Linked DNA regions of Homo sapiens: all the other regions are linked to region 1. The links are contacts of gene promoters, found by promoter capture Hi-C in blood cells and fetal thymus (Javierre and others, 2016). All regions are on one chromosome and are shown on one strand. Each heading gives the region's core, a stretch centred on a gene start or on the middle of the fragment in contact. The rest is flanking DNA. Distances are from core to core; before and after follow the strand shown.

The links. The method cuts DNA at HindIII sites, captures the fragments that hold promoters and counts their contacts. A CHiCAGO score of 5 or more calls a contact.
Region 2: a fragment that was not itself captured here is called in contact with the fragment with the promoter of RAB28 in region 1 in 7 of 17 cell types (total CD4 T cells, total CD8 T cells, non-activated CD4 T cells and 4 more); the score reaches 21.1 in total CD4 T cells.
Region 3: a fragment that was not itself captured here is called in contact with the fragment with the promoter of RAB28 in region 1 in 1 of 17 cell types (naive CD8 T cells); the score reaches 8.6 in naive CD8 T cells.
Region 4: a contact is called between a fragment that was not itself captured here and the fragment with the promoter of RAB28 in region 1, in 8 of 17 cell types (non-activated CD4 T cells, naive CD4 T cells, fetal thymus and 5 more). The highest score is 15.9, in non-activated CD4 T cells.
Region 5: a fragment that was not itself captured here is called in contact with the fragment with the promoter of RAB28 in region 1 in 8 of 17 cell types (naive CD8 T cells, total CD4 T cells, activated CD4 T cells and 5 more); the score reaches 12.6 in naive CD8 T cells.
Region 6: a fragment that was not itself captured here is called in contact with the fragment with the promoter of RAB28 in region 1 in 3 of 17 cell types (total CD4 T cells, total CD8 T cells and activated CD4 T cells); the score reaches 9.7 in total CD4 T cells.
Region 7: a contact is called between a fragment that was not itself captured here and the fragment with the promoter of RAB28 in region 1, in 1 of 17 cell types (fetal thymus). The highest score is 6.1, in fetal thymus.

What each region holds. Positions count from the first base shown.
Region 1 is chr4:13,482,185-13,485,929 of GRCh38, forward strand. RAB28 (RAB28, member RAS oncogene family) reads right to left here and starts at 2,156. Exons shown (of 7, transcript NM_001017979.3): 1 at 1,892-2,156. The coding sequence starts at 1,966. It overlaps LOC105374495 (a long non-coding RNA gene), which reads left to right and starts at 2,265. Exons shown (of 3, transcript XR_925413.1): 1 at 2,265-2,770. RefSeq lists silencers at 1,688-2,307, 2,301-2,595, 2,558-2,617 and enhancers at 2,041-2,335, 2,131-3,038, 2,298-2,417. The HindIII fragment of the contact is 2,971 bases long and covers 1,391-3,745 here.
Region 2 is chr4:18,025,567-18,029,311 of GRCh38, forward strand. No RefSeq gene overlaps it. Among named protein-coding and RNA genes, the nearest start is that of LCORL, 5.7 kb to the left of the region's middle. The HindIII fragment of the contact is 7,330 bases long and covers 1-3,745 here.
Region 3 is chr4:17,824,710-17,828,454 of GRCh38, forward strand. NCAPG (non-SMC condensin I complex subunit G) reads left to right here. Exons shown (of 21, transcript NM_022346.5): 10 at 259-348; 11 at 673-852; 12 at 3,569-3,679. Among named protein-coding and RNA genes, the nearest start is that of NCAPG, 16 kb to the left of the region's middle. The HindIII fragment of the contact is 1,304 bases long and covers 1,363-2,666 here.
Region 4 is chr4:17,617,914-17,621,658 of GRCh38, forward strand. It overlaps MED28 (mediator complex subunit 28), which reads left to right. Exons shown (of 4, transcript NM_025205.5): 2 at 1,988-2,054; 3 at 3,674-3,745. Among named protein-coding and RNA genes, the nearest start is that of MED28, 5.1 kb to the left of the region's middle. The HindIII fragment of the contact is 5,213 bases long and covers 1-3,745 here.
Region 5 is chr4:17,585,498-17,589,242 of GRCh38, forward strand. LAP3 (leucine aminopeptidase 3) reads left to right here. Exons shown (of 13, transcript NM_015907.3): 7 at 3,322-3,480. It overlaps MED28-DT (MED28 divergent transcript), which reads right to left. Exons shown (of 3, transcript NR_186331.1): 3 at 745-2,182. Among named protein-coding and RNA genes, the nearest start is that of LAP3, 10 kb to the left of the region's middle. The HindIII fragment of the contact is 8,649 bases long and covers 1-3,745 here.
Region 6 is chr4:17,564,099-17,567,843 of GRCh38, forward strand. No RefSeq gene overlaps it. Among named protein-coding and RNA genes, the nearest start is that of LAP3, 11 kb to the right of the region's middle. The HindIII fragment of the contact is 2,955 bases long and covers 677-3,631 here.
Region 7 is chr4:9,602,202-9,605,946 of GRCh38, forward strand. No RefSeq gene overlaps it. Among named protein-coding and RNA genes, the nearest start is that of MIR548I2, 48 kb to the left of the region's middle. RefSeq lists an enhancer at 1-475. The HindIII fragment of the contact is 726 bases long and covers 1,239-1,964 here.

The sequences.
Region 1 (3,745 bases), core at 906-3,405:
ATTATCCTGTCCTATACAAGAAAAAATTTTAAACAGAGATAAAAAACCATAATTATTCACACTAAATTAGCAACAAAGAGGAAACATGTATGATAGGCTAAATAAAAAACTCAGACGCAAAATTATGAACAAATTTCACTAAGTAATATATGTACAATAAATACTGTTAGAAAAATGAACAACAGTTTAAAGAATTATGATAGCATATAGGATAACCAGCAATTTTTGTGTCTTTTTACAAATGTATTGTTATGAGTTGTCATTATCATTTTAAATGGGAAATAAGATCAGTTATGAATTGAATACAGTAAAATTTAAGAGCCAAAACCTTAGACGGCCTTCAAAAGAAAATCTAAATGATGAGAAAACTATAAAAATCTAACAAACTTTTTATTGAATAAAGGTGTTAGAAACAATGATTTATTTATAGCAATTCATTCATTCGAAAAGTTTACTAAGTATACAAAAATTAATATACTTTATAAAGAAAAGTTACCCCAAGTTCCTTTCTTCCCCCAACGTTTAAAGGTAATCAGAGCATATTGTTTTCCTCAGCTTTAAAAATCTGTAACAAAGGATCCAAGAAGACAAGAAAGAAACAAAAAAATACTTCAAATTTTGCATATAAAATTTTACATCTTTCCCAGGTGACCTCGAAACTCAAATGTCAGAACCAAAGGCAGAAGCAGGTATCTGGGCAGTGCCAACTGTCAGGGAGGATGCAAAGAGAAGTCGTCACCAGAGAAACCAGGGTCCGAAATGCAACCAGCAACAGGGAAATGTGAAGCCTTAAACAGGAAATAAAAGCCTGGGTTTCTTTAGACTATGGTTGGGATAAGGAAGGGGAGTACAGGGGTGATAAACTTTAGCAATATTCCCAGAAAGTGTTGGCGCCTTTGACAGAAGCATGGGAAAGAAGGCATCCGGGTAGAGGCTCTTCACTATTTGCTGGTGGAGGGATCATAGACCCCTCTGAGATCTTATGGACCCTCTCCCCAGAGCACGTACCGGGCAGTATTTACTCCATTTCAGGAGTTCCACAGCCTTGGGGTAGGAGCCCCTGCCTAGGAGATAATAAGACTGACGCTGCCTGATATTCTCACGCCCGCATTCATTCATTCGAACAGGGGATCCCTTTTGTCACGCAAGCAGCTCTACCCTCAGCATCCTACCCGTAACAGGAGCTCCATAAACACTTGTTGACTGACTGCTTGTATCGAGTGCTGAGCTGGAAACAGAGGTGATGAACAGGTATGATATTAAAATAGCAACTAGAGTGTACTGAGTGGACACTGTGCTCTAAAGGTTTTATGTGTATTTTCACATTTAATATGTATTTTCACATTTCTCCCTTTGCGGCGGCCCTTTTCAATACCCATCTTACAGATGAAGCTTAAACTGATTAGCAATTTGCCCTCCAATGACCCGACGACTAAGTGGCAGAGCCCCAATTCTCACCCGGGGAATACTGATTCCAGAGCTACGCTCCTGGGAGCTCACGATGCAGTAGAAGCATCAGAAACGGTAAAGGGGGTGGGAGGGGAGGAGTAAGTGTGACCCAGACTACAAGTAAGAGGAGCTAAGATGCCTTGGCAAATCCCTGCCAGTCCTGAGAGGCGGGAAGCTGAAAGGCTGGCCCGAGTCTTGCAGGAGTTCGCAATCCAGGCGGGGAGTTAGGAAGTGACTCTTTTTTAAGGGGGAGCTGGACAGCTCTCGTCGGCCTTCACCAAGCGCCCACTTCGTGTCCGGCCTCAGGCCACACAACCAGAAGGGCCCGGGCCTAGAAGCCCGAGGGCTCGGGGTAACGAGGCGACGCCGGGCGGCGGGGAGGAGGCCGGGGACCGCCGGGGTTCCTGCAGGCCTGGGACGGCGGGCCTGCTCGAGGACTGACCTTCCCGGAGGCGCCGTCCCCCAGCACGACGATTTTCAGTTGCCGGTCCTGGCTCTCCTCCTCAGAGTCCGACATGGTGTCCCGGGAACCAGGCCCGCCCCTCGAGGTGGGGGGGGAAGGGAAGGATGAAGGCTCCGGGGGCGGGGGAGAGGAGGAAGGGAGGTAGTTGCGGCAGGACCCCCGCCCCGGTGTCTCCGCGCCGGCAGGAGGTATTCGAGGAGAATCACTCGGCAAGCGCCATCTTGCCCACCTCCCCGCCCTCTGCGCGCGGCCCCGCCCCCTACGCGCACGTCGGGCGCGCGCCCCCGCCTCAGAGCCAACCCGCGCCGACCGGCGGCCCCGCCTGACGAGCCGAACCACTCGCGGCCCTGGACTGGTGTGGGGGACATTCCGGCGGGAGAGGCGAGGCGCTGCGTTTCCCTTCAGGAGACAGTTGGCTAGAAGAAGAAAAGAAGTGTTCGTTCAAATTAAGGAGAGAAAACGGGAGCAGAGCAGCTTTCAGGCGTTCCATCAAATTCCCTTTTCTCCTTCCCTCTTGAGAAAGTCTCTGAAGGGAATGGTTCAGCCTGACGGGGTGGAGCAGTGACGCCCGGGCTACGCGCCAGGGTTGCCTGGCAGCCAGGAGTTCGAGGACCGGCGGCGGGGCGGGGCCTGTCTCCGGGCACCCGGGACGCCCGTAGCCTGGCGGAGAGCGCCAGAGAGGGCCCCTGAAAAACCGGACCAGGGAAGAGGGTACCTCGGGGCGGATGAGGGGACAGCTGCTAAGGGCCGAGGCTGCTGGGAAGCCTCAGTAGCGGCCGTGAATACAGTGGAGCTCCGGCGCTGCTTATTTCGGCCTAACTCTTGGTTTCCTCATCTGAACAACCCCAGGCTCCCATGGTTCGTTCATCAGACGCTACTGATCGCCAACCTCCTGGCACCCCATCTTTACCCTAAGGCAGCAGTTCTCATAAAGTGTGGTCTAGGGACCTCTGGAAATCCCGATGACCTCAGAACAATTTTCATAATAATACGGACACCTTGTCTGTCTTTCTCACGTTCCTTCTCTCACTAGTATACCGTTTCCTGGAGGATACGCTTTGTGTACGACGTCATCACTGGCAGCTAAGGGAGCTTGCGTTTGTTGTTTTTAAACATTTCTCAGTTTTCATTTCAATGCAGTAGTGATAGGTGTAACCCACATAAACATAAGCTCTTTGGAGGTCACAGTAATTCTTTAACATTATAGAGAGGCCCTGAGTCCAAAAAATTTAAGAACTGCTGCCCTGGATAATCTCAGTCCAGGAGCGTTAGGTAAACGGCATAAATGAAATTTACAATTTAGTGAGGTAAATTCAAAAATAATAATGCTGTCCTGCTATGGTTGTTTCATTGTTAATCACTTAAAATTTATTGTTACCTTTACTACTATTAGGAATTATGAAGTATAATTATCCCCATTTTGCAGATGAAGTATCTTAAGTTAACAAAATGCTTAGCCCAGAGGCAGTAGTCTTGGAGACCATATGGGCATTAGAACAGGAAAGCAGAACAGTGTAAAGAAATGCCCAGACCTAGAGGCATCACTGGAGTTTAATCTCATGTTTACTAGATATGTGTCCTCGAGCCTCAGTTAGTTCACCTGTAGAACAGACTACTGCCTTTGTGTAGGTTTGAAAATTAAATGAAATAATCGGCATAAAGTAGATAGCACAATGCCTGGTGTGTAGTAAGCACTCAATATTAACCAGTGTAACTATCACCCTCATCATCATCATAATTAGATGATGGTCCGTGTTGGAAGTGTCACTACTTTCTAGCCAATTTACCTTATACAAGTTTCTTATGTAGAGCCTCAGTCTCTTCATCTGCAGA
Region 2 (3,745 bases), core at 867-3,366, 4.5 Mb after region 1:
GGATTTGGACAGAGGGAAATAAATAATTTGTGGCCACTTTTGTAGTCTACCACATTTCGGGAAGTGCAAGATTACCCTATTCTCCAAAAAAAGGAGAACTAAAGATATAAACAGAACTAATGAATATCACATATCTAGAATTTCTGGGAGAAGATAAAGATTAAGACCAGAAATATTGAAATACACAAATGGAATTAACTTTGGAATTCAGCGTCACTTTGAAGAGCAAAGAAGTTTCCACAGAATGTATTATAATTACCCAATGAACATAAAAATAGGAGTCTAACTGATTAACCATTACATTCTAAGTATCAAGTGCTGGGCCAGGCACTAATATGGTGTCTAATATTTATTTATTGGTTTGATACATGTTTGAGTTATCTATAAGTTCAAGTATAAAAAGAGGGCCATATCAGCCAGGAGCAGTGGCTCACGCCTGTAACCCCAGAACTTTGGGAGGCCGAGGTGGGTGGATCACCTGAGGTCAGGAGTTCGAGACCAGCCTGGCCAACATGGTGAAACCCCATCTCTACTAAAAATACAAAAATTGGCTGGGCGTGGTGGTGGGCACCTGTAATCCCAGCTACTTAGGAGGCTGAGGTGAGAGAATCGCTTGAACCAGAGAGGCGGAGGTTACAGTGAGCCAAGACGGTACCATTGTACTCCAGCCTGGACAACAAGAGCAAAACCCCGTCTCAAAAAAAAAAAAAAAAAAAAAGAGGGTCATATCAAAAATTGTCTCCTACACTGAAAATCCAGTTACTCACAAAGGATTTTCATATAACAACAGGTATATGATATGAAATGTTAATGTTCTTTGGAAAAATAATTTTGTTCTACTATCTACTTCCTATATATGTTGTACCAGTTATTTATTGCTGTGCAGCAAGCCAATCCGTAGGGTAGTTGCATAAAGAACAACCAGTAGATAATATTCACAAGTCTGCAGGTCAGGTGGGCTGTTCTGCTGATCAGGTGAAGCTCTGCACATCTTACCTGAGATTGCTAGTCCTGGAAGCTGCGTGATCTAGAATGGCCTCACTCTTGGTGTGTAGTTTGGCTCCCAGTTTGCTGGGGTAATGAGAATGACTGAGTCATGTGTCTCTTACCATCTAGAGACTAGCTAGAGCCAATAATTTATGTAGTAGCAGCATGTGAAGCGCAACATAATGATAAGTACTAATGTAGAAGTGCTTTTCAAGTCAGCTTGCATCATGTTCTGCTTGCTACTATCCTATTGGCCAAAGCAAATCTCATGGTCAAGCCCAAAGTCTGAATATAAGGACACTAACGAATGGCATGGATTCAGAAAGGTGTGAACAAATCTGAGTCATCACTTCAAACTACCATAAATAACTATCCAAGTTCACTATTATCCACCTAAAACTGATGAGCACATCTACAGAGTTCTTAGACAGCACCAAGACATATAAATTGCAGGGCCAAATAACAGTTTATTAATTTATTTACCACTTAGTCAATTGCAAGCTAGGGTGCTTTTTAGGAGGACATGATATAACAAATACTAATACATTGGAGTAGTTTGAAATACATTTCCATGATAGAGAAATACAAAATTACAGAGGGGTATGACTAGAGTCATATTTTTGAGATATTAACCCAAAATTAAAGCTATTCTTATATTTTGTAACAAATATAAACAATCCAATATACTAGTAGGATTGTAAAATACCTACTCAATTCTATATTATCCGTATGTACCAAAAAACGATATATTTTATAATTTAATAAAATCTAAACAATTTTGTATGCATTAGATATTTACAGTTGTAAAGCGTAACTACTAGATACCTTAATTAACTGTACAATGCTTTATAATGCTGAGAAACTATCTTTTGAGTAAATTATATCTGTCTTGTAAAGAATCGCATTTTACTGTATTTCCTTTGGTTCTGACCTGTAATACAGTTCACCGATCTAAGATTAAAACATCAGAGAAAAATTTGATAAACCAATTATTTAGGACATAGAACAAACTTCCCTTCCAAAAAATTTCTAATTAACTACATAGTCATATTATACTAAACTTTATGCAAACATCTTAGATTCATCCAGGCTCATGAGTCAAAGATTTCTCAATAGTCTTCTCCCTTATGGAAGTATAGACTCTAAAGACATCATTAACTGAAATACATACATGTTAATGTATTTATTTTCAATACTGCAGTTAAATAGTTAGAGATATCTAAAATATATGATGATTTTGTCTTCTTGATGCATTTCCAAATACTATCAACACTTTTTGTACATTTTGTAGGAACAAAGATAAAATTTTACAACAGGAATAATGATTGAAAAAACAGAAATATAGTGATAATGTACTTCATTTCTTAGATTATAATGTCTCCTTTTTTCCTATTCTAAGACTCCTTAGTATACATAATAATGGGCATGATAGCTGGTCCAATTCTGTCACTCATATCAGAGTGGCATCTCAGATTTTTGTTCTTTACTTTCTTTGTTGAGTTCAATCACTGGATACTTTAAAAATATTACTGTTACATCCTGTTACTGTCTTTATAGTAAATATCACATAGTTGGACATAAGTTTTACTATATTAGGACAACTCAGGCCCTAAACTGTCAGGATAATTAATACCAAAATTAGCATGAGTATGTTTTCTGATTTTTTTTTACATAAAATCATACACCTTTGAGCTTGGCACCTGAATTTAATACCATTTACCATCTACTTTCTCTTACATCCAGACATGATGATAGGACCTGATCTACCACTATTCTTTCTGTGTCCACTTGAAATCACTTCCCTGGCCTAACGCATTATTGTCACTTTCATTTTCAGCCTTTTAATAAAATTTCAATGTATTAAAGGCTCAATGAAGGCAATTTTATCCAATTTAATCCAATTGCACAGTTCAGTATCAAAGTAAAATAAGAATGTCATCTATAGTACCTAGACTATCAGAGTTTAGAGGGAATACAGATCATCTAGGTCAACCCCCTAATTTTGCAGATAGGGAAATTGGGCCCAGAGAGGATGAGCAATTTATGTAAGTCACAGGGCTTATTAGTAGCACATCCAAACTAAAGATCAATTTCTTGATTCCTAATGTTGACTCTTTTTCCTATAATAAGAGCTATCAGTGGTTTGGCATTTATACACATTATTAATTCATTTACCTTTTACCATAATCTTATGCAATTAAGTACTCTCATTATTATTATCCCCATATCAGAGAGAAAGAAATATAAATTGACTTAGAGATGTTAAATAACTTAAACAAGTTAGCATCATCTAGCTAGTTGCTGATGAAACTAGAATTTTAATCTTTGTCTTTCCAAATTTAACTACTGCTTTTCACTGGAGAACAGGAAAGAAGGTGAAAAGCTGCCTATTAAGGAGTCAGAAATTGAGGAAGCTGGATTTTTTTCTGATTTTCAGGAGTGGCTACTGATAATGTCACTATCTTTGGGGGAAGATAGATAGTGACATTTTCAGTAGCACACAAAATTATGGTCTCTCAATATTTAACCTATCATTCAGCCAAACTGGGGTTTTTGCTGTCCCCATCTGATATTCCATGCGATTCTACTCCCATAAAGAACACTTCTCAACTGAGTGGTGATTATTACTGCTTTCTATGCTCTTAGAACACTTCATTTTTCTCATGAGTCTTACCGCATTTTTTCATGTAATATAATTATCTGTGACTATTTCTTATTGTTTCTCTCTATAACCTTGTAGACTGTGAAGTCAGAGCCT
Region 3 (3,745 bases), core at 765-3,264, 4.3 Mb after region 1:
ATGAGGGATAATTTACTTTCACTGTCTGTGTGCCTATTTCCCTTCCATTCAAATAATTTCATTTTGTAGTCAGATATATTGTTTTGTTTTGTTTTTTTCTAAAATTGTCTAGCAAACAGAATGTGTGCTATTTCTACCAGTATGTTTTTGCTCCATTATTCAATATATGGTGGATACTACTTGGAGTTTTATATAGAATTTTGATACTATTTGCTGATATATCAAACATATATTAAAGCATGTACTCTGAACTTACAGGTTACAGAAATTATCTCAGAGATTCGGGCGCCCATTGTTACTGTTGGTGTTAATAACGATCCAGCTGATGTAAGAAAGAAAGAACTCAAGGTAAGTCTCTTTTAAATGAAAGAAGTGCTTGAGTGTAATGTAGCTGGGCAAGTCTATTCTTTCCTCTTGCTGTGCAGTTCTGAAATGTTTCTCACATAATCAAATTATTGTTTAATTGTTAAACTATAAGAATATTTAAAATGTTACCACATATGTCAGTCTCAGAGATATGCAGATCTCTGTGTCAGGAAAACTACAAGTTTGCATATGCCTGACTCATTAAATTCTGGGCAGTTGAGATATTAAATAATACTCCTGAGTTGCTACAGATATTCATATTAACAGTTTTTGTTCAGTGTTGAAACAATTTATATCTTCCCTTAGATGGCTGAAATAAAAGTTAAGCTTATCGAAGCCAAAGAAGCTTTGGAAAATTGCATTACCTTACAGGATTTTAATCGGGCATCAGAATTAAAAGAAGAAATAAAAGCATTAGAAGATGCCAGAATAAACCTTTTGAAAGAGACAGAGCAACTTGAAATTAAAGAAGTCCACATAGAGAAGGTACAGGTAACTTTTTTCATACTAAATCTCAGGTGTTATTAATCATCTCAACTAAATCTTATTTTCTCTAACTTCTAGAATTGCCAAAATATATTTACTTTGAGCACTTTGTAATAGTGACATGAATTAAAATGAAAAAAGTTTTTCCCTGTTTCTATTTTTGGACTTTGAAAGGCCTTAATTAACTTTAATTATTGGAGGTAGGACTTTATTTGCTTCCTTGTCATGCTAATCTCTAGAATCCGAAGTCTTTCTTACCAGGGAAGCTAGCTTTCCAGTGGTTCACATCTGAGTTTTCTGTTTTTTGTCTTGAATGGTTTAAAAAAGGAAAATACATCCATTTTCCTCTTATTTGTGGAGGATCAATGACCTTTCTTTTTTATTGCTAGCAAAATAATTTCTATGGTAACGTGCATTTTTTTAAAGCTAAATTACTTTTGTGTTTTTAGAAAAAGCTACGCAGCTTTGTTATTTTTAATGAAATACTGAAATATGTCTAGTAACATTTAAAGCTTGCTTTTCAGTAGTTCGTTTTTTAAAAAATTAGTTTGTTAAAGTACTCTCTTAAATGGAGTATGTCTTTCCTTCTGAAAGAAATTTTTTGTTAATGGTATCGATACCATTCTGTCTTACAACAAATGATAAATATGTAAACATAAGATAGGTATCAATTAATATTTGATATTAACTTTAATTTCTTTTGGGATCTTGCCTTTTGTAATGAACATCATTTATTGTTGTACTTTTGGGATGTGCTGATTATTCTCATAAAAAGAATGCTAAATAGGAGACTCTTTTATATAGGAGAGTTTCATGAGTTATGTTTCTGATCTCTTTAGCCATAGACATCCCAACTCCAACACCCACCTTCCCAGAGTGTATGCCTGAATTTTATTTTGATAGCTGGTGGCTTCTTTTATTTGACGAAGTCTGTGGGCCATTATAGGCTATTAAATTTGGAAAGCAAATTTAAAGCAAAAACTGAAAATATCATCTGAAAAATGACAAACTTTAGGTCAAAATTATAAAATTAGCAAAAGTAGTCTATCATGGTTAATATCGTCTGTTTAACTTGACTTGCTTTGACCATTTATGTGTCTATTTGTCCTGTTCGAGGGCTACAAATCTGTTAAAATGCAACTACAACAGAGCATAATAAATGCTATGGTCAGGGAAGTATAGAGGTTTTATGGAGAGGTTTCTAGTGCTGGTAGAGTATTGTTGGCTTCCCCAGAGGAAGACATGTTTTATCCTGAGATTAGAATAAAAATAACAATATAATCTAACAGTCAGAGGATACTTTTTCTGTGGTAGTCACAGCATTAATTACTTCACAAATGTGAATTCATTCTTTTCTTCCTATAGGCCTATGAGGTTGGTACTATTATTATCTTCATTTTACAAAGGGCAAGTAACTTGCCCAAAATCACACAGATAGTAAATGGTGGAGGCAGGATTTAAACCCAAGAAGTGGCTCTAGACTTGTGCTTTTAACTCACTCTGTGCTGTCTCTCCTCAATGAATTATGGAAGGAATGTTGTAGACAGATGGAGCAACATCTGTGATGGTCCAGAAGTTAAAGAATGCCTATTATGTTTTAAAACTTCAGGTCCATGTGACTAGAGAATTGATGGGGAGAAGCAGGAGAAAAATCTGGGGAAAAATTAAGGGCTAGGTCATGTAAGGCTTTGCGTAAGCAATATTAAAAATTTTGTATTCTAAGGATTGTGGTGAACCACTAGTATTTTAAGTGGTTAGGTAAGTCTTATGTCTCAGATCACTGTTGTTTAGGAAATGGATTGGAGAGTAGTAAAAGCTTAGACAGGCATAATAGTTGGGAGACTTACAGTAGGGTTGGGAGACTTACAGATGATGGTAGTCTGAACAAGATAATGACAGTGGATTTGGAAAGTAGTGATGAACTTGAGAGGTATTTAGAAATTAGTAACGGAGAAAAGGGAGTCAGGAATGTATCTTAAGTCTTTTGGTTTAGACAACTGGGTAGATGGTGATGACAGTATGAAGATAGAGAACAAGGAAGAGGAGAGATTTGTGTAATGATGAGTTCCCTTTTGGACATGTTGAGTTTGAGGAAACTGTGGAACATCAAGAGGAAATGTCTTTTAGCAGTTATATATATGAATCTGAAACTTAGAAAATAGCTGGGCTAGCTCATAGATGATAAACGAGGTTGTCAGGTTTTTTTTTTTTTGAGGTGATAATTAGGCAAGATGAAGATTAGACTTTTTTTTTTTTTTTTTTGAGACAACGTCTCCCTCTGTTGCCCAGGCTGGAGTGCAGTGGCATGATCTCAGCTCACTGCAACCTCCACCTCCCGTGTTCAAGCCATTCTCGTGCCTCGGCCTCCCAAGTAGCTGGGACCACAGGTGTGCACCACCACACTAATTTTTGTGTTTTTAGTAGAGATGAAGTTTTGCCATGTTGACCAGGCTGGTCCTAAATTCCTGACCTTAAGTGATTTACCTGCCTTGGCCCCCCAAAGTGCTAGGATTACAGGCGTGAGTCGTTGCGCCTGGCTGAAGTTGCCAATTTTAAAATCCTGCCTCTACCATTTACTATCTGTGTGATAGCTGTAAGATCACCTACAGAGTCTATATAGAGTGACAGTATGCCCTACACAAAGCCCTGAGAAAGCAAACATTTAAAGGATGGGGAGAAGATATTACTAATGCTGAATATTTTGTCTTCATTTTAGAATGATGCTGAAACATTGCAGAAATGTCTTATTTTATGCTATGAACTGTTGAAGCAGATGTCCATTTCAACAGGCTTAAGTGCAACCATGAATGGAATCATCGAATCTTTGGTATGTTGATGGCCTCTTGGGCTTTATTTTAGTCCACTCCTTTCTTATTTTGTAAGTGATATGTTC
Region 4 (3,745 bases), core at 428-2,927, 4.1 Mb after region 1:
AATATATGTTCTCTTTCTAAGCTACCACACATTTTCTTCTTAATACAGCTGTCCAACTGTCTATAAAGGCCTGTGTATCTTTTTTTTTTCTTTTCTTTTCTTTTTTTTTTTTTTTTGAGACAGAGTCTCACTCTGTCACCCAGGCCAGAGTGCAATGGCACGATGTTGGGTCACTGCAACCTCCACTTCCTGGGCTCAAGTGGTCCTCTTGCCTCAGCCTTCCAAGTGGCTGGGACTACAGGTGCGCACCACTACGCCTGACTAATTTTTGTTTTTGTAGAGACAGGGTTTCACCACGTTGCCCATGCTGGTCTTGAACTCCTGGACTGAAGTGATCCACCCATCTTGGCCTCCAAAATTGTTGCTTACAGGCGTCAGCCACCATGTCGGACCCTAAATTTTTTTCTTGAGTGGGTGGAGGGCAGTAAAATTCTTGAGATGAGATTTCCTGCCACCCTGTCTGGTAGGCCTCCTGGCTCAGGGGAGCTGGCCCAACTTTTTTGGCCAGTTTGTGACTGGTTGGCCTATTAATGGGATGTTTTCCAGTAGCCATAGGTCTCACAAAGGAAGTACATCCTACCCACATCCCAAACCCAACAAGAGTCAACTTTCGTTTTTTTTGAGACAGATTCTCGCCCTGTCACCCAGGCTGGAGTGCAGTGGTGCAGTCTTGGCTCACTGCAACCTCTGCCTCCCAGGTTCAAGCAATTCTCCTGCCTCAGCCTCCCGAGTAGCTGGGACTACAGGCACGTGCCACCATGCCCAGCTAATTTTTTGTATTTTTATTAGAGATGGGGCTTCACCGTGTTAGTTAGGATGGTGACTTCGTGGATCTGCCTTCCTAGTTAGGATCCTGACTTCGTGATCTGCCTGCGTGGGCCTCCCAAAAGTGTTGGGATTACAGGCGTGAGCCACCGTGCCCAGCCAGGAGTCAATGTTCAAAGTAATCCTGAGAATGGGCAATCTGTTTTTCTGATTTACTTTCTCTGTAAATCAAGCGCGGGAGCTGCAGGCAGGCAGAATTTTTGCTCGTTAAAGGGCCCTCACATGTAGGTAATGTTCTAAATTTGAGCTCAGATCTGTCTGCCTCACACCAAGTGTAGTTTGCTGATTGCTGACAGAGCTCCACTTTCCTGTGTTTGAGGCTTCTTTTCTAACTCCTTTTCCAACTGCCATGCTGTTCTCTTTCTGTGCCTCCCCAATCTCCCTGCCCACTTCCTGCAGTGGGCCTGCTTTGGTACATTTCCTTAGAGTTGCTTGTGCACAGAGCTCCTTGGCTGATTCACATTTGCATCTGTATAGGTGCCCTTTAGAGATAACTCTCTCTGGGACTTGATTATCCATGTGATACCAACCTTGTCCTCTTAGGCCATCCAGTCAGTAATATGTGTTATTAAACACTTCCCTTGTGCCAAGGCAGTGTTCCAGGCACTAGGAGGACAGTGGTGAATAAGACAGACAAAATTCTCATCTACTAGTAGGGGACAGATAATAATGGATGAAAATAATGGATATGATGTCAGTTAATTATGTGAAAAACAATAAAACTGTGCTTGGGTGTGGAGCATGAGCAGGAGGGGCACAGTTTAGAAAGGGTAGACCGGCTGCTGTCTCTGAGGGGGAGAAGATTGTCCTGAGTCCTGAATGGGTGGTGATGTGAGTTGTGTAAGCACCAGCAAGAGGCCACAGTGGGGCTGGAAGAGTGTCTGGGCCTGGTGTGGAATAAGATACAGGGAAGGGGCATGTAGTAGGACAGAGACCAGATGTGGTGCCGGCTCGTTTGCCTGGCGCTTCCTCCATGGGCCTAATTAATTGGTAAACTCAGTTTACCAGATGTTTCCATTGGCATGGTGTCTTGCCATCTCATATGCAAACACAGATGCTGCCACCTCATCAGATGACTTCAGGAGAAGTTATTTCTTCCTCTGGAGTAAGATTTTTGATGTATAAATGATATTTTTTTCTTTCCTATGTTTTGATTACACAGGCTTGCTTTGCATCTCTGGTGAGTCAGGACTATGTCAATGGCACCGATCAGGAAGAAATTCGAACCGGTAAGCATTCCCTCTGTGTACACAATGTTCTGGGCTTCAGCAGTATTTCCTAGTTGCTAATTTTATACTTCATGTGTTTCAGTCCTGCTTTTATCCTAAGACAACATTTCAGGGACTAAAATGTGTGCACATAATCTCTATGAGCTGCTGATTTTTGGTTCAGTTTATTAATTGACATATCACCCATAACGAATCATTTATAATGAACTTTTCGTATTCGTACTAGGTAAAGAAGAAGACCAATAGTGTGTACTGCTTTTTAAAAAAATTTTATTATTTTTGGAATAGGTCTTACAGAGAAAAGTCTCTTGTGCTTCTTTTTATTCCCCAAGTTCTGTCCCTAAAGGTAACCAGAGCTTCTGATTTCTTCGTACCATATTTTACATGTTTTTTTTTTTTTTTGATGGAGTTTCACTCTTGTCGCCCAGGCTGGAGTGCTCACTGCAACCACCACCTCATGGGTTCAGGCAGTTCTCTTGTCTCAGCCTCCCGCGTAGATGGAACTACAGGCATGCACTACCATACTCAGCTAATTTTATATTTTTAGTAGAGACGGGGTTTCGCCATGTTGGCCAGGCTGGTGTCGAACTCCTGATCTCTGGTGATCCATCTGTCTCAGCCTCCCAAAGTATCGGGATTACAGGCGTGAGCCACCGTGCCCGGCCTTATATGTGCCATTTTAACTGTAAATTATGATGCTGATTGCTGGATCTCTGCATTGTCTCTTTTTTTTTTTTTTTTTTTTTGGAGACAGAGTTCTTGCTCTCTCACCCTTTTAAGAAAGGAGTGCAGTGGCATGATCTCTGCTCACTGCAACCTCTGCCTCCTGGGCTGAAGCAGTCCTCCCATTTCAGCCCCCCAGTAGCTGGGACCACAGTGTGAGCCACCACATTTGGCTAATTTTTGTTTTTTTATTTTTTTGTGGAGATGGGATCTTGCTGTATTGCCCAGGCTGGTCTTGAACTCCTAGGCTCAAGCAGTCTTACTGCCTCAGCCTCCCAAAGTGCTGGGATTACAGGCGTGAGCCACCACGCTTGGCCTCTGCCTTGTGTTTTTTTTTTTTTTTGAGACGGAGTCTCACTCTGTCACCAGTCTGGAGTGCAGTGGCGCGATCTCGGCTCACTGCAACCTCTCACTCCCTGGTTCAAGCGATCCTTCTGCCTCAGCCTCTTGAGTAGCTGGATTACAGGCATGTTCCACCACGCCCAGCTAATTTTTGTATTTTTAGTAGAGATGGGGTTTCACCATGTTGGCCAGGGTGGTCTCAATCTCCTAACCTCATGATTCGCCCACCTCGGCCTCCCAGAGTGCTGAGATTACAGGCTTGAGCCACCATGCCCAGCTGCATTGTCTTTTTAAAGAAGATCTCATGGCTTTTATGCTATATTAATATCTCTCTCTTTTTTTTTTTAACCTGAGAAAAGCATAACTTATCTGCTGTTTAATGTTGGTTAACACATGAGAAGTTGGGGGTTATGATTACTGCTGTGGCCAAGATTAAAATCCCTGAGTTGTCTATGAGAGGGCTTTGTTTTTACATTCTGATTATTCATTTATGAGGGAGATAAATGAGTCTGTTGTTTTTCTTATTTTAATAATTTTGTTCCTTTTTTTTTAAGGTGTTGATCAGTGTATCCAGAAGTTTCTGGATATTGCAAGACAGACAGAATGTTTTTTCTTACAAAAAAGAT
Region 5 (3,745 bases), core at 737-3,236, 4.1 Mb after region 1:
ATGAACATGGGCTCAATTTCCTGGGCTCAGGCCTCCCACCCTAGCCTCCTCAATAGCTGGGATTACAGGTGTGTGCCACCATGCCCAGCTAATTTCTTAATTTTTTGTAGAGATGGGTCTCCCGCTGTGTTGCCCAGGCTGGTCTTACACTCCTGGGCTGAAGCAATCTCACCTTTTCCTCCTAAAGTGCTGAGATTACAGCCATGACCCCGCCATGCGGCCTGGTATTTAGAATATTCACAGAGTTGTGCTACCATGACCACAATCAATTTTAGAACATTTTCATAACCCCCAAAGGAAACCCTATACCCATTAGCAGTTACTCCCTGTTTCCCATTCCCTAAAGCCAGCAGGGGATGGACACTTTGGTTGTTTTTACCTTTTATTTCTTTTTGGTATATGCCTAGGAGTTGAATTGCTGAATCAAATCGTAGTTCTGTTTAACTTTTTGAGGAACTTCACATGGCTTATTTTGGTGAATTATTCCTATCATCACTTTTGGACACAAATGAAGAACACAGCATGCCTAACTAGACATGGGATGAGAATTTCTGCCTCATAGATTCCCTTAGCCTAGACTCCAGCATTGGTGCTCCCAGGTGTCCCTGAATGCTGTGTCAGTGGGAGGCTGTTGGAGCTGAAAGCCTGCTCGTCCAGTTCCGTCGCTCTCTTGGGATCTCCAGCCCTTTAAGCAAACCAACTCTGAGCATTTGGGAATTTATAATTAAAACAAATGAACAGGTATTTGTTTGACCTAAAGAATTCTTTATTGTCAAAGTTGTTTCCCAAGGGTACTTCCATTTAAAAGAATTCTTTAGTACTTAATTGTGATTAGAGTTCGTGTTTTTCAGGAAAGCATCTATGGTTTAGACAGAGTGAAGAAAAATTAATAGTCTGTAGAAAGCACAGTACTTAGAGCTTGATAAAATTTCTGGAATGGTTAGTATATGTTTAATCTATAGCAATGTTTAGGTTCTATAAAAGTATCTTTTTGGTCACCAAATAGTGGTTATGACAGCCCCTCTGGTGTGCCTGGAATTTATCATACAAAGATGCATGAAGTGGTCCTTGTCCTTGCAGAAAGTGAGGATGTTGTAAGAAGGAATAGGGAGGTAAATGGCATTTGCAGAGGGTACTGCAGGATCAGAGGGATGAGGGGGACTGCCAAAGAATATGAAGCTGCTGGTGCGATTGTGCACACCTCTATTTGCAGCTACTCAAGAGGCAGGCAGGAGGGTCTGTCAAGTCCAGAAGTTCAAGGCCAGCCTAGGGAACATAGCAAGACCCATCTCTAAAATAAAAATTTTAATAAGAATATGGAGTCTAGGCCAGGCATGGTGGCTCATGACTGTAATCCCAGCACTTTGGGAGGCTGAGGCAGGTGGATCACTTGAGGTCAGGAATTCAAGACCAGCCTGGCCAACATGGCGAAACACCATCTCTACTAAAAGTACAAAACTTAGCTGGGAGTGGTGGTGCGTGCCTGTGATCCCAGCTACTCGGGAAGCTGAGGCACAAGAATTGCTTGAATCTGGGAGATGGAGGTTGCAGTGAGCTGAGATCGCACCGCTGCACTCCAGCCTGGGCGACAGAGAGACACTGTGTCTCAAAAAAAGACTGGAGCCTAAGGAGAGTCCTGCAGGTTGCTTAGAAGTTACAGTACAAGAGAGTGGGGCAGGACAGTTCAGGTGAGGAAGCTGCAAAACTTGTAGCCGAGCAAAGGGAAAAGAGTTCAGCAGAGACCAGGCAGGACGCATGGGTGGGGTATGACTCGTTAAACTGAGACATAGCCGCGCTAAGCACTCTCCATTGTAGGTCAGTGTATATCAGAGAAACACAGGCAGTTCTTCCACAAGGGCAGGACTTTAATCAGACATCAAGTACTGAGTTAATGATTTAAAATGCCCACATTGCACAGCCTTGTTGTTGTTGTTTTTTTTTTTTTTTTGAAGTGATTTTTAAAACTGTTTCATCTTCCGATTTAAAATTTTTTTCCCTTTGAAGTGTGCTGGTCATCCCACCATGATGCAGTCCTAGTTTAATCATTTTAACAAGTGGATGGCAAATGCCGGAGGAGCATTCCTTGGCTGTGGTTGTTGCTGGTCTGCAGGAGGATAGAATTTCTTTCTTGGCCTAGTTACCGTGGCCAGAAATCAATACAAAGCCCTTTTGTGCTCCTAGCCTAGAAAGAAGAGCAATATGGCATCAGTTTTCTAGTTTGAACTAAGGACTGTTTCCATTCTGTTACCCCACCGATCCCATGTTTATTAAGTAAGAACTAACTAGTTTTCTCACTTAAAGATGCCTCAAGCAACAGTTGAAACTGTGAGAAACAGTGTGTGACAACATTAAAAAGATAGAATTCAACAGTTCTTAAAAAGCAAATAAATAGGATATTTTTTTTCCAGTCATTGGGATATAGCTTTGGTTTGCTGTCTGTTGGTTGATTTTTTTTTTTTTTCATTTTTAGAAATAAAGCAATGGACCCCTTACCTATCTTTAAGCACTCTTTGTGGTCTCAGAGCCTATTGCTAATTTTATTTTTTTAAGAGACAGGGTGTTGCTATGTTGCCCAGGTTGGGTGCTGTGGCGAGATCGTGGCTCACTGCAGCCTTGACCTCTAGGGCTCAAGCGAGCCTCTTGTCTTAGCCTCTGCAGTAGCTAGGACAATAGGCAGGCACCAACATGCCTGGCTAATTTTTTCTTTTTTTTTTTTCTGTAGAGACCAAGTCTCAACTTGTTGCCTAGGCTGGTCTCAAATTTCTATCCTCAAGTGATCCTCCTTCATTGGCCTCTAATTTCATCTTTATTATATCTTACCTTATTTGTTTTAGAGACAGTTTCACTTTTTTGCCCAGGCTGGTTTCAAACTCCTGAGCTGAAGCAATTCTCTCACCTCAGCCTTCCAAAGTGCTGGGATTACAGGCATGAGCCACCGCACCCGGCCTTCTAACTTCATCTTTAAATTAAAATTGTAGAAATATCTGAGTAGATTGGAGAGAGGAAATTAATTATATAGACTGTAGACTATTAGTTGACATTGTATTAGGTACCACACATGACTTCTCTTAGTAATTCAATAATCTTTTGATGGAAGAATTACAGACCTCATTTTATAGATGAGGAAATAGGCTTAGAATCAAGTGACTTGCCCAAGAATATACAGAAAGCAAATAATGGGACCTGATAATTGAAACCTTAATGTGCGTATACTTTAAGAGTTTGTATATTATACTTTTTCACACACTGTGATGAGCTTTTTCTGTTATTTTGAAATAAAGGTAACAGTATATTTACTTTTTCCCTCTTTCTACCCTATAGACCCAAGTCTTGGATTGAGGAACAGGCAATGGGATCATTCCTCAGTGTGGCCAAAGGATCTGACGAGCCCCCAGTCTTCTTGGAAATTCACTACAAAGGCAGCCCCAATGCAAACGAACCACCCCTGGTGTTTGTTGGGAAAGGAATTACCTTTGACAGGTATTTTTTATGGTGTCCGTGCTTTGTATTTTGGTGAATTATTTGTGTGCAGTTTAATTACTTGGTTATAGGGTTTTTTGGTTTGATTTTTTTTTTTTTTTGAGGCAGAGTCTCACCCTGTCACCCAGGCTAGAGTGCAGTGGCGTGATCTCGGCTCACTGCAGCCTCTGCCTCCCAGGCTCAAGCAATCCTTGTGCCTCAGCCTCCCAAGTAGCTGGGATTACAGGCGTGCACCACCACACCCAGCTAATTTTTGCATTTTTAG
Region 6 (3,745 bases), core at 904-3,403, 4.1 Mb after region 1:
TGCAGTCTGGGCCACCATAGTACTCACACAGGGCCTCCTGACTCTAATCTGGAGCTGATGTTTCCCTGGATGCCTTCCTTTTATGGGAATCCCACAGGGCTACAGGATGGGACCAAGGAGTACAAAGGTGCTAGGGTACCTCTAGTGGCTCTAGGGGAATCTAATTCTTCCATTCATGTGGGTGATGCTGCTGAACATGTCAAGTTTGTACAGGACATGACCTTCCCTCCTGGACTGGATGAATAAGGCCAAAAGGTCTGGCTCAAGCAACAAGGGCAATGGGTGCCCTGAGAGGTAGTAGCCTCAGTACTGGAACAGACAGCCTGGGTTGTCATATCTGGGCAGCTGATACTCCAAGTAATAGAAAAGAGCACCTCCGACCACAGGAAGCGTGAGAAGTGGGTGCCTAATCTTTCCTCCTCTTGTTTCTTCACAGTACATGGATTGAGAACATATCAGCGAAGATCATCCCAGCAGTAGCAGCAGTGAAAGACCGGAAGCGTTGCCAGGTCTTCCACTTGAGTATTGTGAGCCTATTCCTCCAGATTAATAGTTCACATGTGGCCTATTGCAAATGTGACAGGGGTCCCAGTGGCCATCAGTGGGTTCTGATCAGACAGTGCCACCCTCAGTCTGGGTTCAGATACACAGAATACATAATATACCCCATGAACGAAGCTTACCTTAACCATAGGTATAAAATAAGAGGTGGACTTTATTTTTATTTTTTTATTTTTTGAAACACAGTTTCACTCTGTCGCCCAAGCTGGAGTGCAGTGGCACAATCTCAGCTCGCTGCCACCTCTGCCTCCCGGGTTCAAGCGGTTCTCGTGCCTCAGCCTCCCAAGGAGCTGGGATTACAGGCACACACCACATTGCCCAGCTAATTTTTGTATTTTTAGTAGAGACAGGGGTTTCACCATGTTTGCCAGGCTGGTCTTGAACTCCTGACCTCAAGTGATCTGCCTGCCTCGGCCTCCCAAAGTGCTGGAATTACAGGCATGAGCCACCACACCCTACCTGACTTTCTTTTTTAAAAATAGATTTCAGAGTTAGGTTTAATTCTATGCTCACTAAAACATCCCAGCTGTTTTCAGAAACATGAAAAGTCCTAAGTTGCAGTGTGACTTTTCTTGGTGTCCATCCTGAGGGCTTAGTCTGTTCCAGATCTTTCCTCCTCTTGTTTCTTCACAGTACATGGATTGAGAACGTATCAGCGAAGATCATCCCAGCAGTAGCAGCAGTGAAAGACTGGAAGCGTTGCCAGGTCTTCTGCTTGAGTATTGTGAGCCTATCCCTCCAGATTAATAGTTCACATGTGGCCTATTGCAAATGTGACAGGGGTCCCAGTGGCCATCAGTGGGAGCCACACCACCAGACATCAGACGGGTTTGTGGAGGGTTGCTTTAATTAATCACCCTCCTTAAACTTGTCATTAACATAATGCACCCAGTCCAGAATCAGTTGCCAGTCAGACCTACAGCAGCCCCACCATGCCCACGGCACCCCTACATGCCTACCATGGGAATCCAGTTCTTGGCTAGCTCCTGGTAGCATGAACCCAGGAAACCTCACTCAGCATCGCTGCACCATCCACACCCTTAGGGTGAACCTGTCTGCCAGCCTGGCCACAATCCAGTGGTATCCTGCCACCTGAACCATGGTTAAACCAGACACACATTTTGTACAATTGGACTAGAGACTCTTAGAAAAACTGCTTCTTGGCCAGAGTTAAATATGTGCTCTCTTGGGTTACATATTCCTCTGTGGGGTGTAGTAGCTTGCAGAGTGCCTGTCCTCCTTAGATGGGGAATGTTGTTTGAGAATTTGGGGTCCTTCAGTGTTTGTGCAAGATGACACTCCAAATTGGAAGGGCCACATACTTCTGGCACATCACAGGGTTGCCTGAGTCAATTTGCCAGGAAAACAAACATGCCTGGTTCCACTCTGCTGCCCATGTCCTCATACACAGTATAGGCACACAGGTCCTGGATAAAGATGATACACATCTTGTCATTGACTGTGTGGAGATAGCGAATGCTACTGCCTGTGCTATTAAGGACCAGCGGGATGCATTAAACTCACTAGCCAAGGTGGTGATGGACAACGAAAGTTCTCAATTATCTGCTGGCAAAATGGGATGGCATTTGCATGACTGCCAACACCTCTTGCTGGGTATAAATCAATAATTTAGGCAAGGTAGAAAGTGAGCTAGAGAAGATTCCTGCTGAAGCGGGGTGCTGGTCAGCTATGCACACGCAGTGCCACCAAGACTCATTCTTTCACCTCTTTAGCACACTCAATCCTGGCCCTTGGGGGCTCCTGGTTGAGGACCATCCTCCAAGGACTGATCGTCCTATGGGTCTGGTTCTCCTAGTCACCCTGATGAAGGGCTGCCTCGAAATGACAAGGAGTCTCTACAAACAGACTGCATCCATATCAGTGGTTCACACCACTAAACCCATTTCTCCCTCTAGATTTAGGGTGGGCAATGATCCTACTGGATTTGATGTGCTTTATCTGCTGTTTCAGTGGCTAAGTGAGGGTCAGGGGTGGACCGTTGGGAAAGGAAGACTCAGGTATGAAGTCTTTTTATACCCCCTCCTCCGTGGACATGGCCACATAAGAATTGGCCATGGGCCCGGAACATGTCTTTACTAAGAGCCCACACAGCCTGGGCCAGGCTTGTTGCTTTGTGCGGGAAAACCTTTCCCTGTTTCAGGCTCAAGGTGTTCAGTGTGTGCATCAACGACCTTCAGACACGCTCCCCAGCTCTCAGTGTTTCAGACTCTGTGGTGGTGGGGGTGGGTGTAGGTAGTCGGGGCAGGGGTGTGTGTCAAAGGGTCATGCTGCTACAGCACAAGAGAGGTGCAAGGAGGCCAATTGCCCTGTGTCTGCTGCAGGGGGACCCATTGGCCATGGGAGACCAACTCTGACTATTGAAACTGCTTCTGCTCTGTCTCTTCTGTATGTGAGTAAATCATTGTTCCGTCCCATTCTTGACTGCACTTGAACTTCTGCTCCTGATAATAGGTGTCAACCGTAGATAATGAGATTCAGAAAATATGACTGAATATAGAGCTTATTTGAATGCAAATCTTGAGGATAGCCACCTGGGAAACACAGACTCCAAACGAATAGGGTCAGCATTCCAAAGTGGAGAAGTTAAGGTTTCACTTACATAGGCAGACAGAGAAGTTTCAGCAGGATTACATTTTTGATACAAGACCAGCACATATGTTATAATGATTTGCTACAATGATTTGTTACAGTGATTTGGTTACAGATTGCTACATGGCAAGAAAGATTACTGTGTTAACCCCTTAGGAATGATAATGATCTGAGGGTGTCTTCTCTCTGGTCCCGCTTGTTCTTCCTAATTACTTACAGGGAAAAAAATGCAGAAGATGCAGCTAAATGCCATGTGACTAAGGCCACATAGCCACATTCCTCTCAAGGCTCAGAATAATTTAAAATTCAAACAGCTTTAAGTTTGAATTATCTACTTTCACATAGGCAATAGTGCCACTTGCTCAACACTAAATATGGTAGAGCAGAGAGAAAGAAGCCCGAGCCTCTGATAACTTTGTGGAGCCACGGTATCATCTTTGGCTGTCTCTTCCAGCCAATAAGCTTAAGCCTCTGTTTAAGAATTTCTTTTTCTTTTTCTTTTCTTTTTTCTTTTTTTTTTGAGACGGAGTCTCGCTCTGTCACCCAGGCTGGAGTGCAGTGGCGCCATCTCAGC
Region 7 (3,745 bases), core at 352-2,851, 3.9 Mb before region 1:
TTATTAAATTGCCTTCAAAAAAAAATAAACACTTCCTCCCAGCCTTGTAAAATTTAAAGCCCTCTCCAATGTGTGCTGCAGAATTTTCCTTTCAGTTTCTCAGAGGATTATAAAGACCGCCTTAAAAAAGGCAAGCTCCAGACACTCTGCAAAATAAAATGGCCAAAGTGTAAAGTCAAGTGGCCCCCTGAAGGGTCATTGAACCTCACAAGCTGTGTGGCAGGTTGTTACTAAAAATCCTAGCTACCCTGATCAGTTTCCCTACATTGATCAATAGCTAAGTTTGGTCAGGAGCCCCCTCCATGGCTCCGCTCATGCGCCATTCATAATTCTACCTCCAAGTTCCGCCTGAGCCAGACCGCGTTTTTGCCTCGATCCTCAGCCGGTTCGGCTTCCCCCGTACTGCCTCCCTCTGAAGAAGAGGAGAGTCTCCCTCACCCAGTCCCACTGCCTTACAACCATCCTGCTCCCTTAATGTTATCCCATGTCTCCTCGGGGACGTCCCCTGTAGGCTCGCCACCCATTGCCTCTCAATCGCGACCGCGGCAGGAAGAAGTAGCCCCTCTACTACCACTGAGAGAGTCACAAGTCCCTCCAGGTGACGAGCGCTCAGCCCCCTTCTTAGTTTATGACCCTTTTTCTTCTTCTGTCTTATATAATTAGAAAACCCATAATCCTCCCTTCTCTGAAAAGCCCCAGGCTTTGACCTCTCTGATAGAGTCCGTACTCCGGACTCACCCGCCCACGTAAGATGATTGTCAACAGCTCCTTTTAACCCTTTTCACCTCTGAAAAGAAAGAACGTATCCGAAAAGAAGCCAAAAAGTACTTCCTCACATCAGCCAATAGACTGGAAGAAGAAGCTAGAGACCTCCTTGAGGAGGTCTTTCCGTCTACCCGGCCCAACTGGTACCCAAATTCCTCAAGTAGAAAGAGAGCTTCAGACGATTTTCACCGGTATCTCCTCGCGAGTATTAAAAGAGCCGCTCAGAAACCCATAAACTTGTCTAAGATGACCGAAGTTGTCCAAAGGCCCGATAAGTCACCAAGAACGTTTTTAGAGCGCCTCCAGGAGGCTTATCGGATTTACACCCCTTTTGATCCGGCAGCTCTAGAAAATAGCCGTGCTCTTAATTTAGCATTTGTGGCTCAGGCAGCCCCGGATATTAAAAAGAAACTCCAAAAACTAGAAAGATTTGCTAGAATAAATATCTGTCAGCTTTTAGAAATAGCCCAAAAAGCTTTTGACAATCACAAGGTTAAAAAAACAAAAACAAGCAACACAGGCAGCTGAAAAGGCCGCTGATAAAGCATTCAAAAGACAAACAAAAATCTTAGTGGCGGCTATCCAAGAAGTACAGAATGAAATAGCCCGTTAATTTAGCATTAACTGAAGCCCCTGCTTTAGCCCTCCCTAATATCTCCATAAAAGCCAAGGAGTTGCTAAAGACGTGTTTACTCAGACTCTAAGACCCTAAAGACGCCCAGTGGCCTATTTATCTAAGAGGCTAGATCCTGTGGCCTCTAGATGGCCAAGTTGTCTGCGAGCCATAGCGGCTACAGCAAGCCTAGTCCAAGAAGATGGTAAGTTAACTGTAAGCCAAAATTTAACCCTTACAGCTCTTCAAGCCATAAAGACCTTACTACGAAGTGCTTCTGGCAAATAGATGTCAAATGCTCGCATCTTACAGTATCAAAGTTTACTGTTAGATCAGCCTCGTTTGACTTTCTCTCCCACAAAGTGTTTCAATCCAGCTACACTACTTCCCGACTCAGACTGCACTATTCCTGCTCATGACTGTCAAGAACTGTTAGAAACTATCGAAACTGGCCAATCTGATCTTCAAGCTGTGCCCCTAGAAAAGGCAGATGCCGCCGTGTTCACAGAAGTAGCAGCTTCCTCAAGCAGGAAGTAGGAAAAGCCAGTGCAGTTGTTACCATGGAGACAGATGTGTTGTAAGCTCAAGCTTTACCAGCGAACACCTCAGCACAAAAGGCTGAATTGATCGCCCTCACTCAGGCTCTCCGATAAAGAGTAAACGTATTAACATTTACACTGACAGCAAGTACGCCTTTGCTACTGTGCATGTACATAAAGCCATCTACCAGGAAAGCAGGCTACTCACCTCAGCAGCTAGCTGTGATCCACTGCAAAGGACATCAAAAAGAAAACACGGCCGTAGCCCATAGTAACCAGAAAGCTGATTCAGCAGCTCAGGTCGCAGCAAGACTTTCAGTCACGCCTCTAAACTTGCTGCCCACAGTCTCCTTTCCACAGCCAGATCTGCCTGACAATCCCGTATACTCAACAACAACAAAAAAACTGGCTTCAGATCTCAGAGCCAATACAAATCAGGAAAGTTAGTAGATTCTTCCTGACTCTAGAATCTTCACACCCTGAACTCTTAAAGAAACTTTAATCAGCCACCTACAGTCTACCACCCACTTAAAAAGAGCAAAGCTACCTCAGCTCCTCCGGAGCCATTTTAAGATCCCCCGTCTTCAAAGCCTAACAGATTAAGCAGCTCTCAAGTGCACAACCTGCGCCCACGTAAAAGCCAAACAAAGTCCTAAACCCAGCCCAGGCCACTGTCTCTGAAAAAACTCGTCAAGAAAAAAGTAAGAAATTGACTTTACAGAAGTCAAACCATACCAGGTTAAGGACAAATACCTTCTAGTACTAGTAGACACCTTCTCCAGATCGACTAAGGCATTTGCTACCGAAAACGAAACCACCAACACAGTAGTTAAGTTTTTACTCAATGAAATCATCCCTCAATATAGGCTGCCTGCTGCCATAAAGTCTGATAATAGAGCAGCCTTCACCTCACCTATAGCTCAGTCAGTCAGTAAGGCGTTAAACATTCAATAGAAACTCCATTGTGCCTATCAACCTCAGAGCTCCAGGCAAGTAGAACGCATGAACCACACATTAAAAACACTCTTACAATATTGATCTTAAAAACCAGTGTAAATTAAGTAAGTCTCCTTCCTTTAGCCCTACTTAAAGTAAAGTGCACCCCTTATCAGGCTAAGTTCTCACCCTTTGAAATCATGTATAAGAAGGCGCTGCCTATCTTGTCTAAGCTAAGAGATGCCAAATTAGCAGAAATATCACAAATTAATTTATTACAGTACCTATAGTCTCTCCAACAGGTACAAGAGATCATCCTGCCACTTGTTTGAGGAGCCCATCCCAATCCAATTCCTGACCTGACAAAGTCCTACCATTCGTTCCAGCCAGGAGACCTAGTGTTTGTTTAAAAGTTCCAAAAAGAAAGACTCACTCCTGCTTAGAAAAGACTTCATGACTCCAACTGCTCTGAAAGTAGACGGCATTCCTGCTTAATCACTCCCACATCAAAAAGGCCAACAGAGCCCAGCTAAAAACATAAGTCCCCAGGCCTAAGTCAGGCCCCTTAAAACTGTGCCTAAGTCAGGTGAAGCCATTAGATTCATTCTTTTTATCTACCTCACTTATTTGTTTTTGCCAGTTAGGTCCTCTGTGCCTTCCTACTCCTTTCTCCTCACCTCTTTCATGACAGGATGTGTATTTGCAAACACCACTTAGAAGGCCAGTACCTCCAAGGAAGTCTCCTTTGCAGCTGATTTATGTGTACTGTTCCCAAAGCCAGCCCATACCCACGAAAAGCAACACAATCTGCCAGTCCCAGGAGCAGGAAGTGTCGGCCTTGCAGCAAGATTCAGACACTCCAAGAGCCAAACTAAATGTAGAAGTTCCAAAA